Linked DNA regions of Homo sapiens: regions 1, 2 and 4 are each linked to region 3. Evidence: promoter capture Hi-C in 16 types of primary human blood cells and fetal thymus (Javierre and others, 2016). All regions are on one chromosome and are shown on one strand. The core of a region is centred on a gene start or on the middle of the fragment in contact, and the rest is flanking DNA. Distances in the headings are between cores, read along the strand shown. Region 1 has its middle 130 kb from the start of OR13H1. Region 2 overlaps LOC124905218 (a long non-coding RNA gene). Region 3 holds the start of ARHGAP36 (Rho GTPase activating protein 36). Region 4 has its middle 75 kb from the start of OR13H1.

Region 1 (2,700 bases), core at 196-2,695, 610 kb after region 3:
CACATGGACACAGGAAGGGGAATATCACACTCTGGGGACTGTTGTGGGGTGGGGGGAGGGGGGAGGGATAGCATTGGGAGATATACCTAATGCTAGATGACGAGTTAGTGGGTGCAGCACACCAGCATGGCACATGTATACATATGTAACTAACCTGCACAATGTGCACATGTACCCTAAAACTTAAAGTATAATTTAAAAAAAATTTTAAGGAACAATACCTATTCTAGGCTCCCTAGAAATGGAAAAAAAAAATTTCAGAGAATAGAAAAGCTTTATAGCTTTCTCTTGGCACAGATTAAATACATTAAAATAAACAAATAAAAAAAGGCCATTAGGGGAAGGGTACATTTAAAAAAAAAAAAAAAGAATGGTGGACTGATGTGTTGAAGTCTTAGTTAAGGTACCAGCTCAGTCATAATATCTTGTGATGTAGTATAATTACCAAAACTGTAGCATATATATGGTGTTTTCCCGCATAGCTAAAAAATTGAGGTCCGTATAACCCCAATGATTGTCACTGCAGTGACCCACTTGTGGAATTTGGGCTTCCTCATTCCTGCAAACATAGGCTATGGTGGATTTGAGATACTGGTTTTAAGAGTGAGAGGTCCAGGACGGGCGCAGTGGCTCATGCCTGTAATCCCAGCACTTTGGGAGGCTGAGGCGGGCAGATCACCTGAGATCAGGAGTTCAAGACAAGCCTGGCCAACATGGCGAAACCCTGTCTCTACTAAAAATACAAAAATTAGCCGGGTGTGGTGGTGTCCACCTGTAATCCCAGCTACTCGGGCGGCTGAAGCAGAAGAATCGCTTGAACTCAGGAGGTGGAGATTGCAATGAGCCGAGATCGTACCACTGCACTCCAGCCTGGGCAAAAGAACAAGACTCCGTCTCAAACAAACAAACAAAGGAAGAGTGGGAGGTGCACTTCCACCTGATGACACAGTAAATGCTTCAATGAACCAGAAGCCTCTATCACTATCTTGCAACTTTGAGCTCCTGATGCCTGTGGAATAACAAGCAAAGAAAAATTCCTATATTTACAGAGGTACTCACCCTCATTTCTGTCAGCAGTTAAAGTTGCTGCTACATACAGAGATAGGGAGGATTATGTTTGAAACTCAGGGGATTCACTGAAGCATTTCTTAGTGCGTCTATTTTCGGTGATAACTGTGAACATCCAATTTCACCAACCATGGCCCAAAAAGAGATAGGCAACTGAATGTTTAAACCCTTCTGGGATGATCCCACTAGACAAGTAACCTAAATTAGCCAAGGTGTTAGCTAATTGTGAGGAAAGCATAAAAATGGTAGTTGTAGCCGGGCGTGGTGGCTCATGCCTGTAATCCCAGCACTTTGGGAGGCTGAGGCGGGCGGATCACCTGAGGTCAAGAGTTCAAGACCAGCCTGGCCAACATGGAGAAACCCTGTCTCTACTGAAAATACAAAAATTAGCCAGGCATGGTGGCACATGACCGAGACTGAGGCAGGAGAATTGCTTGAACCTGGGAGGCGGAGGTTGCGGTGAGCCGAGATCGTGCCATTGCATTCCAGCCTGGGCAACAAAAGCAAAACTCCGTCAAAAAAAAAAAAAATGGTGGTTGTAGAGGGAGATGAGTAATATAAACTATGGTGCTGCAATGAGAACACATGGACACAGGAAGGGGAACATCACACACCGGGGCCTGTAGCGGGGTGGGGGGCAAGAGGAGGGAGAGCATTAGGACAAATACCTAATGCATGTGGGGCTTAAAACCTAGATGACAGGTTGATGGGTGCAGCAAACCACCATGGCACATGTATACCTATGTAACAAACCTGCACATTCTGCACATGTATCCCAGAACTTAAAGTAAATTTTAAAAAATAAAAATAAAAAATAAATATAAATATGTAAACAATATGGTTCTGGGACACAGTATAGTAACAGGAACTTTATGTTGGCATAATAATCCTCATTCAATAAGCCTTTTTAGGAGAGTGTAACTGGCCACCAATTTGAAGGATTGCTTCTTCATCCAAGAAAAGAAATGAGGACATGTTGTTCTCATAAAATGATGGCTCCAAATTATTGTATCAAGGGGTAGACTGCGTCAGCCTGAATTTATACCCCTATTCTGTTTACACAAGAGGAGTCCTTGGCCTGCCAGACCCTTGGCTGCTTGCTCAAAAGAGATGTCTGGCTGTCACCACTATCACTTTGTCTCCAAATATCAACAACGCTCATGGCCTCTCCTGGGCTGAGATCCAAACTCCCTCCAGCAGATCCTTCTTTATGCAGCTTCAGCACAAGGTCTGGCTTTTCCACTTCTTCCAGCCTCAAATGAAGTGCCATTCCATACACTGCAGGATGTGACTTTCCGTGGATTACTGGAAATGGTGAGGTGAAACAATCTGGAAGTTCAAGAGAGTTAATCAGCTGAACCAAGGTATGGTGGTTTCACAGTGCTTATCTAGACATATCCAAGGCGACGGAGCAGCCAACTATGTTTTCTCATGAAGCTGTAGAAATCTCTGTAATGTGCTACTTTATATTTTCTATCTCATCCCTTGCCACATTGCCATTTTCTGTCCAAACTGCTCTGTAATTGCAGCCCTCAATAAACCCTTAGCACAAAGCTTTGCTTCAATCTCTGTTTTCTCAAAAAGTCAGGCAAAGTCACACTATGTCTCTTGATCATCAACACCATATTACAT
Region 2 (2,700 bases), core at 120-2,619, 530 kb after region 3:
ATCACTGCAGGAAAAAAGAACTGGACACGCATGTGATCTTTTTATCTCCGCTCTCTGCCTCCCTCTGTACCCGCTCTGTGCTCATGTTTCTTTCCTTTATTGCCCTGATCCTTCTCTTTGCGTCATAATTTCCATCAAACAAGTATTTATTAGTGCCTCCTATGAACGGAACATTGTGCCATATAAGGAGATAAATGATACAGGGTTCCTGCCCTCAAAGAACTAACAGTCTAGAGAGGCAGATAAATATGTACTTTTTATATGGAATTAACTACAATTTAATGATGAAAGTGGCATGTGCTCTAACAGAGGGGAAAAGAAAAACAAAATACTGTGAAAGAACATTGGTGAAAGATATTAATTCTGACTCGGGAGAAGGGCATCTTGAGGAGATTAAGCAAAGACAAAGAATGGCTAGAATTTTAATAGAATAAAGGTAGGTAGTCATTCTTGTCAGAGGGATTTGAGAAAAGTCATAAAACGTGGCATGTTTGAGGAATGGTGGGAATGGAATATGTAGGGAGAACAATGCATCCTAGCTTGCCAGGGATTTCCCAGGTTTTAGCACTGAAAGTGCTGTATCCTGGAAAACTTCTTAGTCCTGTGCAAACAGGGATGATTGGTCACCCTAAATATGCATGGGACATTGGGCATATGCATCATAGGGAGTAAAAAAAATGAAGGGAAAACCAAGGATCAGTGAAGACAACCCATAGGAAATTAGGTTGAAGACAGGACATGAAGAGTACCAAATGTCAGGCTAAGAAGTCATGACTTGTTTTTACAGGCAGTTGACAATGAAACAGAGGTTTTGGATAGGGGAGTAGTATAATGAAAACATAAGATTACTCTGGCAAAAATGTCCAGGGCAGATGAAAGGGGTAAAAAACTAGTTTGGAGCCTATTTTGAAAATCCTTGCAAAAGACACACAGAAGACTTTGACAAGGAAATCTACAATGGGAATGGAGCAGAGGAGCCATAGCGAAGAGACAGTGCAGTGGCAAAAATCACTGAACCTTACTGACTAATATGGGAAATTGTAGAAAGGAGGGATGATGACAATGTTTTCCAACCTGGTTTATTGGGAAAATTGAGGTGCCATTAGCAGGAATAGGGAAGTAGCAATGATAGTTTTAAATGGAATGGTGACAAGTTTATTTTAATTTAGTTTCCAACAATCTGGGGTTGGGAAGCCAAATAAACACGTGATTCATGAGCTAAAGAAGATGTCTGACCTCTAGTTATAAGCTTTGGGAGACATGAGTATAAGAATTAGACTCAGATATAAGTTTAATTATATATGAGAGGTCAGATATGACCATCTATGGAAAGAGTAAAGTTACAGAAATTAGTAAGAAATACATGGTGGTCATTAGAGCCTGTTACAGGTACTCCAGTTCTCACCTCCTTCCAGGTACATAACAACATTGCCATGTGATTGCTTTTGCCAACTAAATGTCAGTAAAAGTGACTTATTCACATCCAGGCAAAAGCTTGAAGAAGCCATACAGAATTCACTGTGCTTCTTTTATCCTGCTTCAGCAATCATTAAAGCAGGTGTCAAGAAGAATCCCCTATTCAGTCTGGGTCCTTGGGTCACTTCAATGAGCGGAGACAAATGTCATTACTATGTAGCATGAGCAAGAATTAAACCTTTGTTGTTTCAAGCCCCTCAAAGTTTAGGGGCTGTTTGTTGCTATAGAGTAAGCTAGCTTATCTTGAATGCCACTGAAAACTTAGAAATACATACATTTAGAAGTTAGAAGAAAGAGGGAACTGACAAGTGACTCTTTCATGGGGATGGCGTAGAAGAGCCATACTGAAGAGAGAGTGCAGTAGCAAAAGTCACTGAACCTTGGTGATTTTACAGTAAAGTATACAATTTACAGTAAAAGAATAAGCAGAGGTGAGAAGTACATAAAGCGAAAATGAATCTTAGAAGACAAAAGAAGAAAAATATTCAAGAAGTGAAGGTAGTAAGTAGTGTTAGATGAAATGAATCAAAGACTGAAAAAGAACATTGGATTTGGTCATTAGTAGTACATTGGGTTACTTTCTAATAAGTTCAGTTGTGTGACAGAAACAAGCAAGGGATTGAGAAGTTAACAGGGAGTGTGTAAATGGAGTTAATTAATGAGGGTAATCATTTTTAGAAATTTGGTAAAGAGAGAAAATTCCTTAAGCAATGTCCTACCTTCCGTTGGATAAGCATGGTTTTTTCTCTCTCTTTCCATCTCTTTGCTTACTCTGCTTCCTCCATATTATCCTGGTTCTCTTCTTCTAGATCTGCCTCTTCTCTGTCCTGCCTTCTCTATGCCCCTGTGTCTCTTTGCCTCTTTTTCCCTATGATGGCATGATAACTCTTACAGCTGAACAGAGTGGGCCTAGTTCAGCCTGTGGTCCAATACAGGAGACCCCTCTATTTTACTGCTGATCAGACTGAAATTAAATGTTGTATCACTGAAGGAGTTAGCTCACTAATTCATGGAACTGCCTATCCCGTAATTGTCAGATAAATCTAGCTATCTAGACAGAAAACTTGTCTCCTACTCAGCTGAACTCTGCCTCCCTTTAACTTTTTCTCAGTCCTAATTCTACGCTCCCTATACCACACCAGAAATGTTACTCTCTTTTGTACCTTGTACTTGATATTCATGCTCTCTTTTCTCTTTGCCCATTCCTTATCCTCACCTTTCCAT
Region 3 (2,700 bases), core at 172-2,671:
GAGGCTTCCACTCCTCTGGCCTGCAATCGAACTGTTGGAAGGAGATTTTCCATATTTCTTTCTACCTCCTCACTAGCATTTTGATCAACAGAGCCCCATTCTCCCAGTGGAGAAAAACAAGGCACAGAGTCACGTCTGTGGAGCTACCACTGGCGAATTGGGAGAGAAATTAATTTGGGCCCCTGGGCTTGAAGTAAAAAGGAAATTTCGTTTAGAAGCCCTTCCTGCCTAATGTGGTCCATCTCTGGTGGCTGCTTCTACCCCAGGATTTGGGGGGCAGGGCTCTTTTTACCACCACCAGAGGCCCCAAACACTGAACCCATTATGGCACGTGCTTCCATATGTATTTAAAACGTAAAAATACAAAGCCATAAAAGAAGTGTAAGAAAATCCAACACAGTACCACCCTCCATTGAAATATCAAATATCAAATTCTTTCTAAAAATAAATGTGGGTCCCCCTCCCATATCAGTGCCCTGAGCAAAAGCATTGGCAGTGGAATCTGTAAGTCGGCAGCAACTGGGGGGCACCCCACGTTTATACATACTTGACACTGGGTTCTTTTATCTCAGTTGATGATCAACCCCCTCAGTACAAAGGTTCCCAGGCAGGAGAGCATCTCCCTCTTCGCTGCGGAATTCGCAGGAGAAGGGAAGTAAGATTACTCTCAGATATGGGACTTCTTGGGGGAGGCGGCAAAATCGTTTTTCCTGCTCACATTCTTGGTCCTCTAGAACGGACCAGTGATTTAAATCAGACTTGGAGCTACTCGGGGCTGAGGTGATGCCTGCCCTAAGAGAGGGGTTAAGGGTGGGGGTGGGAGGGTCCCCAAGGGCTGAGACAGCATCTCCCCTTTAGATTCAGGGATCCTGGGGAACACACTGCTTCCCGCTTAGACTAGGCCTCTTGAGGGCTGAGATAACGCTCCGCTAAATCGTGGAGTTTTCTAGAGCCTGGGATACTGTCTCGCTCTCAGATCTGAGGCTCCCTGGGACAGGTGCGCTACCTCGCCTTCAAATTCCAGCCTTTGGGGGCAGGCCTGCTTTTATGTGCCCGATCAAGGGCTCCTGGGGTGGGGCTGGGGGACAAGGACCTTCCCTCCCTCTCAGATTTGGGGCTCACCAGGGCTGAGATGGCGTCTCCCCTCAGACTCTGGGCTCCCTGGGGTAGGGGCAGGGTCCCGCCCTCAGAATCAGCTTCCCAGGACAGGAGCTGTGTGTCTCTGCCTCCCTTCGCGTGGGGCAAGGGGCTGCGGGACCAGCGGCCTCTCTTCTGGCAGGAGGGGGGGTTCCCCGGAGGCCCTGCCCCCTTCGTGACATGCTCGAGGTGTCCGGTGACCGAAACACTCTTAGCTGGGTGCAGGGTGCGGCTCAGGGCGTGGTCACCGGGGGCTACTTAGGGCCGCCGGTGCGGGGGACGACGCAAAGGTTAACTGCGAGCTGCCGGGCACTCAGCGCGGGTCATGGCGTGGATACTGGACTGCCTTTTCGCCTCGGCCTTTGAGCCCCGCCCCCGCCGTGGTGAGTGGGGCCCACCGAGTCGGGGGGCTGGGGTGCTCGGCCGGGGGCGGCCGGCGGCTGCAGCCCCCTCTGGGCGCCCTGGGGCTTGGCTGGTCGCCCCCTTGCCTCCCTTCCTGCTGGCTTTTAGCTAATTGTTCCTGGCTCAAGGGACTGCCCCGTCGAGGCCCCGCATAAATCACCAGCTTTGCCGGGAACCGCGAGCAATCGCGCTAATGGCTCGGCGGTACGCGGGACGAGCGCGTGGGCGGAGTCGCTGGCTCAGCCGCCGGCAGGGACAGCCAGAGCCTTGGGGCCAGACGCGCAGGAGCGGCGTCCCGCAACTCAAGGACCCTCAAGGCCCAAGGATGAATGTCCCTGACAGGGCAAGCCAGGCCCCAGGGACCCTGAAGGAGGCGGGTATTCATTTTGCCTTGAAGTTCGTCCCCTTGTCTCAATCTCAAACACAGAATATCAGCAATGGACCCCCTAGAGTCGTCGAATTTAACCCCTTCATTTAAGAGATGATGACACTGAAGATGGGAAAAGCCTGCCCAAGGTTACCCAACAGGTTGGCAGCATACCTGGGTCAGCTTAGGCTCTGCCAGCTGCCCACTGCCCCAGACTGCCCAGTAGTGGACCCCTGCGGTCTTTAGTCGGGTTCTTTCCTTGGGTACTTGAGATCAATGCTTGGTTTCCCTATTTCTGTGGAATTGAGGACACAAGTGTGCAAAGATCACAGCACCGGCATATGTGGGTCACATTTCACCCCTTTTCGGGAACTGCTTCTACAAAGTACATTTTGACAACTGATTATATTTTCATCCTTAAAGTTTCAGGAGACTGATATTTTCTTTTTGACATACCCCAGGACCCCCACCCACACTGTCCTTCACTCCCCCTTGATAATAAGCCCCACCCCCTTCAGGCTGCCACCTGCCCCCACAGCCACCTGTTTTTTCATAGTCTCCACCTCCAAAATCTATATTGGTGAGAGTGCGTCATTGGGCACCAGCCATAGACCAAACCTGGGGTTGTCTCCTCTTTCCTCTGTCCCTTCACAGGCGGGGGAGGGGAAGCAGGGAAAGGAGGGGCCTCAGCAACTTAATTCAGCAGAGACCTGTTTTTAGTTCTTGCCAGCCCCAACACCCTGCTGAGAACCATCCCAGGAGTTTGACCTCCTGCTGAAAGACTACAGCTTGCT
Region 4 (2,700 bases), core at 175-2,674, 560 kb after region 3:
TTGCTCAAACCTAAAACTTAAGATTGTATTGTTTCTGGTAATGTGATAACCTCACAAGGAAAGGTAGGATGGAATGACATTTTGGCACATGTTTACAAAATGAAGTCCAAACTGTAGGGAAGGTCTACATGGGGCATGAAAGCAGGAGTTAAGGTATCTTGGGTGGCTATAAATGTGCCGGGCACATTTACTTATTTATTTATTTGTAGAAATTATCTTATCTAATTCTTGGAACAATCCTGCAAGAGGCTGGGTGGTATTCCCATTTCACATATGAGAAAACTGACTTTCTCAAGACTGTGCAGGTTTTAGTGGCTAAACCAAAAGTTAAGCTTAGGTCCAGCTGGCACCCTTGCTTTCTTTCTGTATGTCAACAGTTTGCCTTTTAGTTATAAAGTTATAAAGAATTACACAATTATATACGGCACTAATATAACTATACAATATGGTGAGATTGACGCTGTGTCTAAATACGAAAATTCTAAAGCCAACAGACACTTCAATTGGTCATATCTTTCACTCCCTACTAAAACCATGTAAAACTGAAAAGGCTCTGTCTTTTCTTATTGAAAAATCCTGGAAACATGCATTCAAAATTTGCCTTGTCCCTTTTCACAATTGCTAGTAACTGTTTTCCGCATGAAATCCTTTTATCTATTAAGATATCCCCATCACCCTTTAAGCTCTTGTTCGAAACTATATGGAGATGATAGGATCTGCACATAGTAAGCTTCTGTCAGCCGAAGATAGATGTCAGAACAATTGAGCAAAGAGTAAGATTTCAGCAAATCCACCAATTGTTTGGTTTATTGCATGTCAATTTGGCTACTGGTGTTTTTCCATTGAATTGACTAGATGGTTTAGCTACATATACACTTTCTAATTCACCATATATAGGTGGTTCTAATATGACATATAAGGGGAAAAGAGGGTTGAAAAGTAAAGAAGTATTTCAAGCATTCAAAAGTGTATCCTTGAGTTTAAATTTAAAAATTATTATTAAAGAGGTGAATCAACTTAAATAAAGCTGGAAAACATTTTTATTGGGCAGATGTAGCTTATTTGCCCTTTTTTTGGTCAAGGGTAAAATCAATCATGTAGCTAAACCCCTTTATGAGAGTAATAATTCTATTTGACTCAATGTCAATGTAAGTACCTCTATTTGGGTTTTAACAGTCCATTCAACTAAATCAGTCTGTCCTAGGTCATATAAGTTTCTATAAGACAGAAAAGCAAAGAGAACATATATTTCCACCACTGGATACTTGAACAGTTGAACCTAACCCAGTAAAATAAATGGCATACAGCAATTAATTAGAGCTCCAGAACATGAACTATAACAGGCTACTGAGATGCTCTTCCTCTTCTTTCTTCATGTAGATGACATTGTTTTGTCTCTTTTCCCAACACTTGAGACAAGTAAATGGGTGGTCTAAAAAGAGACAATGCCTCTGAGATGACTGAACTCATCCTTGTTGGATTTGCCCAACACCCTGAAATCCAGACTGCCTTCTTCTTGGAACTACTGTTTTTCTACTAGTCACAGCGTTTGAGAACATCCTTATCGTTGCTGTAGTGAGATGAGATTCTCGACTTCATACTCCTATGGGATTTTTTTTTCCTCAGTACCTTATCCTCCCTTGAAATGTGTTACTCCATCAGCTGGGAGCTATAAGTCTTGGCTCAATGCATCAAGGACTTCCCCACCATCTCCTATAACAGCTGTTCTGTTCAGATGATCACACACCTCTTTCTGGGGATGACAGTGTCTCCTCCTTGCTGGCATGGCTTACAACAGGTTTGTTGAAATCTCTTATCTCCTCCATTACACTATTATTATGAGCAATCGGGTCTGTATACAGTTGGCCTTGGGAATCTGGACCCATGCCTTCTTAGTAGCAGTCACACTAATCATTGCAATTCCTGCTAGTTATTATGGACACAATGTCATCAACCATTTTACCTTGAGATCCAGGCCCTGCTGAAGCTCGTCTGCTCAGACACCCTTGTCAGCCTGATTCAGGGTCTGGTTATCAGTGTGTTCACACTGCCCCTGCCCTTCACATTCATCCTCATCTCCTAATTTTGCATTTTTGTTGTGCTGTGGAGGCTAGGCGTGAAGCTTTCTCCACCTGTGGATCTCATCTGACTGGAGTCACCATATTTTATGGGGCAGCCATCTGCATGTACTTGAAACCTCAGTCAAAGGGAACCCAGGAAGAGGATAAAGTTGTCTCAAAACTTTATGGAGCAGTTACTCCCATGTTAAATCCCCCAATTTACATTCAGAGAAATAAGGATATAAAAGGTGCACTTAGAAAGTTAGCCAAAGGAAATGAAAAATCCTAACAGTTCTCTTTAAACGTCTCCAAAGTGCAGGAAAAACAGTGAAAACTTGGCCTATTATTTCAATTTATATTTCTTTAAAGCAAACAACAAAATTTTAGTGAGCATTCTTTCCATGGTCCCCACTAGGCATTCATTAACAATTTACCATAAATATTATCACAAAATTTACCATAAATATTAACACTTTGTCAAGCCCCACATTAAGACCTAAAGCCATGAATGTGCCCAAAGTAGTTCACAGAGAGAATAATGGTAGTAGGTATGTGGAGGCAGGCGCAACAGCCATAGTAGCCTATCAGGGAGAGCCCTTTCTCTTGGGTATAAGCCATAAGATTTTTGTAACCAAACATC

Evidence for each region. Contacts are between HindIII fragments. The CHiCAGO score rates a contact against its expected background, and 5 or more counts as called.
Region 1: a fragment that was not itself captured here is called in contact with the fragment with the promoter of ARHGAP36 in region 3 in 1 of 17 cell types (M2 macrophages); the score reaches 5.5 in M2 macrophages.
Region 2: a fragment that was not itself captured here is called in contact with the fragment with the promoter of ARHGAP36 in region 3 in 4 of 17 cell types (M1 macrophages, M0 macrophages, endothelial precursors and 1 more); the score reaches 5.7 in M1 macrophages.
Region 4: a contact is called between a fragment that was not itself captured here and the fragment with the promoter of ARHGAP36 in region 3, in 2 of 17 cell types (M2 macrophages and endothelial precursors). The highest score is 6.8, in M2 macrophages.

Annotation. Positions count from the first base shown.
Region 1 is chrX:131,669,780-131,672,479 of GRCh38, forward strand. No RefSeq gene overlaps it. Among named protein-coding and RNA genes, the nearest start is that of OR13H1, 130 kb to the left of the region's middle. The HindIII fragment of the contact is 2,349 bases long and covers 272-2,620 here.
Region 2 is chrX:131,591,608-131,594,307 of GRCh38, forward strand. The region is part of intron 1 of LOC124905218 (a long non-coding RNA gene); the gene reads left to right. Among named protein-coding and RNA genes, the nearest start is that of OR13H1, 49 kb to the left of the region's middle. The HindIII fragment of the contact is 245 bases long and covers 1,248-1,492 here.
Region 3 is chrX:131,056,925-131,059,624 of GRCh38, forward strand. It overlaps ARHGAP36 (Rho GTPase activating protein 36), which reads left to right and starts at 1,422. Exons shown (of 12, transcript NM_144967.4): 1 at 1,422-1,520. It overlaps LINC01201 (long intergenic non-protein coding RNA 1201), which reads right to left and starts at 1,222. Exons shown (of 3, transcript NR_126350.1): 1 at 1,123-1,222. RefSeq lists enhancers at 774-1,427, 1,428-2,080. The HindIII fragment of the contact is 6,523 bases long and covers 1-2,700 here.
Region 4 is chrX:131,617,590-131,620,289 of GRCh38, forward strand. It overlaps the pseudogene OR2AF1P. Among named protein-coding and RNA genes, the nearest start is that of OR13H1, 75 kb to the left of the region's middle. The HindIII fragment of the contact is 1,392 bases long and covers 729-2,120 here.